Linked DNA regions of Homo sapiens: region 2 is linked to region 1. The links are contacts of gene promoters, found by promoter capture Hi-C in blood cells and fetal thymus (Javierre and others, 2016). All regions are on one chromosome and are shown on one strand. The core of a region is centred on a gene start or on the middle of the fragment in contact, and the rest is flanking DNA. Distances in the headings are between cores, read along the strand shown.

Region 1 (2,611 bases), core at 48-2,547:
AGGGCTGGGGCTCAGAGCCCAAGCACTTCTGTCCCCCTTCGTGGGAATGCGCTGGTCTCCTGGGGTACGACCCTCCCCGCTCCTGCCCGGGCCATGCTACTCACCGTGTCCACGGCGCTCTCCACACTGGTCTCCTGGAAGGCCCACTGCACGGGCGGGTGCTTGTGAAATTCCTCCAGGGCCACCTGCAGGCCCCGGCGCTGGGCTTCCGTGAGCTCGGCGACGCCCACGCCCACCGCACCCAGCCACAGGGCCAGAGGGATCAGCAGCCGTCGCATGCTTCCGTGTCACCCTGGCCCTGCGAAGCGGGTGTGCGCCCCTCAGCTCTCCGAGCCAGCCCGAGCCGCCTCCTCCCGCGCCCTGCTCTGGGGGGAGGGTGGGGAGCGGGGGCGGGGTCCAGGCCTGTAGAACGCTGGGCACAGGTGAAGGAGCCTGGAAATGGCCCTTTCTCCAAATTGACCTTAGGGTCCGCCTGGCCCTCTCCGTTCCCTCCCACCCTGCCCGCGCTGTTCCCTGGGGCCTGCAGTTTTAGCAAAGTTCCCTGCCCACGCTAGGAATCAGTCAGTTCGCACTCCCACCCTACACCCCTAATCTTGCCCATTGTGTCTCTCCCTGGGTCTCCGGCACGACCCACTCTCCTCCCTGCCGTCCCCGGAGCCCCTCTCTCCTTTCCCCGCTCAGCCTTCTCCCCAACCGCTACTCCCTCCCCGTCCAGAATCCCCCTGCTCCCACGGGGTTCCCCCCACGTCCCCGAGGTCCAGGCCAGCCGGGGGAAGGGGCAGGGGCCGGAGGCCGAATACTTTTGGGAGGACCTAAACACGTGGGAGGGTCCGGACGGGTGGGAGCGGCGGGAGGCCTAATCCTCCCGGCGCGGGGGCTGCCGCGGGCCACCAGCCAGCCCCAGTCGCTAGGAATGGGGGTCTCGCGCCGCCCAGCCCTTGGCTTTCCCGCTTCAGGCAAAATCTTCCCTCCTTCCTCTTTTTTCTGGGGCCTTCCCCACGACCCCTCTTCCTAGCCCTTCTGATCCGTCCCCTGATGCATGACTGGGGCCACCGGAGGGGCTGACCCTCCCGGAGAGCCCCGTCGGTCCTGGTGGTCTTGGGACCGGAGAGCGACAGATGTGGAAACCGAGGCCCCTCAGTGAAGAGCTGCCAGGGTGGTCGCCTTAGAGCAAAGGCGTTCCTCATTCCGCCTGCGCAGCTGCCCCTCCGCCCGGCTGCCGCCCCAGCCCGCTTCCCCTCCTCACGTCCTTCCCTGCGCCTGGAGGTCTCCCCTGACCGTCCCGCAGCTGAAATCTTGGCCTCGCTGTCCGCCTCTTCCCGCTCTTCTTCTCGCGGGGCGGCCCCCACCTCCTCCCACCCCCACCTCCTGGACCCCCTCCAGCAACTCTGGCTCCTCCCCTCCCCAGTGGGACCGGCCTCTGGGGCGGGATGCCCTCCCGCGCCCTCCCTCCCCATCCCACCCCCCTCCTTCCCCTCGATCCAGCCCTCATGACCCTGACCCTGGCCGCGGCTGCAGGCGGCTCGCCCAGGCGCGCAGCCCTCGGTCCCACCTCCCTCTGGCTCGGGCCTGAGCATTCCGCAGCCTCGGCCGGCCCGGGCCTCTTCTCCGCTGCTCTGCTCCCCCAAGGACTTTCTGTGCCCCACTCCTACCCAGGCAGGGCTGCCCTGTCTTGGGTCCTTTACGGGGGACCATTCCCCAGCGTCCCTGAGACACTCATCCTGGGATTTCTTCCCCTAAATACAGACATTCTCAAACCAAATGAGACCTCGAGGTCCCTACACCTGATCCTGCCTCCCACTCCCTGAGCCACACTGAGAAGGAAGGTCTCTCCTTTAGGGAGGACTCTGGCGCCTGCAACCTTGATCGACAGCAAAGATGTCCAGTGTGTATCCTGCATCTGCCTTTCCTGACCATTCCTCGTGCCCCATTCTCCGTGGGATAGATTCTCATGGGGAGTGGGGGAGCCTTCGGGTGTGGCAGAACGGCATGATGGAATTCATAAGGTGAGCAGAAACTCAAGGAAAACTGTCCAAATACCGGCTCGACTCCTGGGTACGCTGGAGCAAGGATGAAGAAGCTCTGAGACTTTGCACGTCAGTAACCACCAACACCATGCCTCTGGTTCCCACACCGCAGGGATCACCTGAAGTAGAGGATCTCATGTAACTTCATGGCTCTCTCTGAACTTCTGTTTCTTTATCTGTAAGATGGGGATCAGAAACTCTGTCTTAAGGAGTTGTTTTGAGGATTAAATGAAGAAACATGAAAAGCAACTGATGTCCAGTGCCGAGCACAAGGCTTTTGTCCCCTACTTACGCACCCCTAACCAGGATTCTCCACTTAGAGCTGAGAATTTCCTTTACAGTGTGCTCTGGGGGCACCAGAAAGAAACTCGGCTTCCATTAACCACTTCCAGGTGTCTGAAATCCCACCACTACTTAGGGTACTTCACTCCCCAGCTGTGAGCTACTCAGCCGCCCTTAAGCAGAAAGAGATGGGATCCGTGTTCCCTGAAAGCTTTAGATGGGGTTAGAGAGAAAAGATGCACCCAAAGATGTTTCCCAGCCCAAGAACTTGAAGGAAACCAAAATATTTCACCCCAAAAAAT
Region 2 (2,611 bases), core at 42-2,541, 430 kb after region 1:
GGAGTTCAAGACCAGCCTGGCCAACATGGCGAAATGCTGTCTCCACTAAAAATACAAAAAAAAAAAATTAGCCAGGTGTGGTGGCAGGCGCCTATAATCCCAGTTTCTCAGGAGACTGAGGCAGGAGAATTGCTTGAACCCAGGAGGCGGAGGTTGCAGTGAGCTGAGATCACACCAGTACACTCCAGCCTGGGCAACAAGAGCAAAACTGCATCTCAAAAAAAAAAAAAAAGTGGTGCAATGACTTTAGAAAACAATTGGCCAGTTTCTTAAAAAGTAATCTTACACACCCATAATATGACTCAGGCATTCCACTCCTAGGTATATTCCTAAGAGAAAAGAAATCATGTGTTCATAAATGTCTTATACCTGATCATTCATAAAGCTTTATCTGCAATAGGCAAAAGTTGGGAATAAACAAAATATCTATCAACAGGTGAATGGATAAACTAACTGTAGCATATCTATACAATGGAATATGACTTCTCAATAAAAAGATATGAGCTACTGATTCACACAACATGGGTGAACCTCAAAATTATTATGCTCAGTGGAAAAAGTCAAACAAAAGGAGTACATATAGTATATATGGTGTGATTCCACTTACTCTAGAAAATGCTCACTATTCTATAGTGACAAAAAGCAAGTCAGTGGCTGCCCGGGGATGGGGGTGAGAAGTGTCAGGAGGAAGGACTGACAAGGGTCATGAGGATATTTTGGGGGGGGCCAATGGATATGTGTCAAAACTTATTAAATCGTACACTTTAAATATGATTCTCTCTCTCCCACTCTGTCTCTCTCTCCCTCTGAATTCTCCCTCTCTCTCCCACTGAAAACTGGAATAAGACAAGGATGACCACTCTCACCACTCCTATTCAATATGGTACTGGAAGTACTAGCCAGAGCAATCAGGCAAGAGAAAGAAATAAAAAGCATTCAAATAGGAAGAGAGGAAGTCAAACTATCTCTGTTTTCAGACAATATGATTTTATATGTAGAAAACCTCATAGTCTCTGCCCAAAAGCTCTTACAGATTCAAGACAAACAACTTTAAGAAAGTTTCAGGATAAAAACTCAATGTACAAAAATTAGTAGCATTTCTATACACAAACAACGTCCAAGCTGAGAGTCAAATCAAGAATGCAAGCCCATTCGTAATAGCCACGCACACAGAAAAAAATAAAATACCTAGGCATTTTCAAATCTCTTTCAGTAAAATATCTTTCACCTCCCTAACCAAGGAGAGTTTTGTAATTCTCAACCCCAGTGAGGCGAAAGATCTCTACAATGAGAATTACAAAACAATGCTCAAAGAATTTAGAGATGACACAAACAGATGAAAAAACATTTCATGCTCATAGATAGGAAGAATCAATATTGTTAAAATGGCCATACTGCCCAAATCAATTTACAGATTCAATGCTATTCCTATCACACTACAAATTACCTTTTTAAAGAATTAGAAGAAACAATTCTAAAATTCATATGGATCCAAGAAAGAGCCCAAATAGTCAAAGCAATCCTAAGCAAAAAGAACAAAGCTGGAGGCATTACATTACCTGACTTCAAACTTTCCTAGAGAGCTACAGTAACAAAAAACAGCACGGTGTGGTACAGAAACAGACATATAGACCAATGGAACAGAATAGAGAGCCCAGAAATAAAGCCACACACCTACAACCATCTGATCTTCAACAAAGTCAACAGAAACAAGTAATGGGGAAAAGACATCCTAGTCAATAAATGGTGCTGGGATAACTGGCTACCCATATGCAGAAGATTGAAACCGGACCTCTTCATTTCACCATATACAAAAATCAACTCAAGGTGGATTGAAGACTTAAATGTAAAACCAAAACTACAAAATCCTAAAAGAAAACCTAGGGAATACCATTCTAGACATAGGCCCTGCCAAAGATTTCATGACAAAGATAACAAAAGCAATTGCAACAAAAACAAAAATTGACAAATGGGACCTAATTAAACTAAAGAGCCTCTGCACAGCAAAAGAAACTACCAACACAGTAAACAAACAACCTACAGAATGAGAGAAAATATTTGCAAACTATGTGTCCAACAAAGGTCTAATAACCAGAACCTATAAGGAACTTAAACAAATTAACAAGCAAAAACCCTTTTAAAAATGGGCAAAGGACATGAACAGACACTTCTCAAAAGAAGTCATATACATGGCCAACAAGCTTATGAAAAAATGAACATTACTAATCATTAGAGAAATGCAAATCAAACCCACAATGAGATACCATCTCACACCAGTCAGAATGGCTATCATTAAAAGTCAAAAAGTTTGGGAGGCCGAGGGGGGTAGATCATGAGGTCAGGAGTTTGAGACCAGCCTGGCCAACATAGTGAAACCCCATCTCTACTAAAAATACAAAAAATCAGCTGGGCATGGTGGCAGATGCCTATAATCCCAGCTACTTGGGAGGCTGAGGCAGGAGAATCGTTTGAACCTGGGAGGCGAAGGTTGCAGTGAGCCAAGATCGCGCCACTGCACTCCACTCCGGGTGACAGTGGGAGACTCCATCTCACCAAAAAAAAAAAAAAAAAAAAAAAATCAAAAAGTAACAGATGCTTGAGGTTGTTAAGA

The links. The method cuts DNA at HindIII sites, captures the fragments that hold promoters and counts their contacts. A CHiCAGO score of 5 or more calls a contact.
Region 2: a contact is called between a fragment that was not itself captured here and the fragment with the promoter of RARRES2 in region 1, in 9 of 17 cell types (non-activated CD4 T cells, activated CD4 T cells, naive CD8 T cells and 6 more). The highest score is 16.0, in non-activated CD4 T cells.

Annotation. Positions count from the first base shown.
Region 1 is chr7:150,340,332-150,342,942 of GRCh38, forward strand. It overlaps RARRES2 (retinoic acid receptor responder 2), which reads right to left and starts at 1,298. Exons shown (of 6, transcript NM_002889.4): 1 at 1,247-1,298; 2 at 105-298. The coding sequence starts at 278. LOC107986858 (a long non-coding RNA gene) reads left to right here and starts at 1,514. Exons shown (of 3, transcript XR_001745420.3): 1 at 1,514-2,006. RefSeq lists a silencer at 337-406. The HindIII fragment of the contact is 3,952 bases long and covers 1-2,518 here.
Region 2 is chr7:150,772,172-150,774,782 of GRCh38, forward strand. The region is part of intron 2 of LOC105375566 (a long non-coding RNA gene); the gene reads right to left. Among named protein-coding and RNA genes, the nearest start is that of TMEM176B, 27 kb to the right of the region's middle. The HindIII fragment of the contact is 1,816 bases long and covers 384-2,199 here.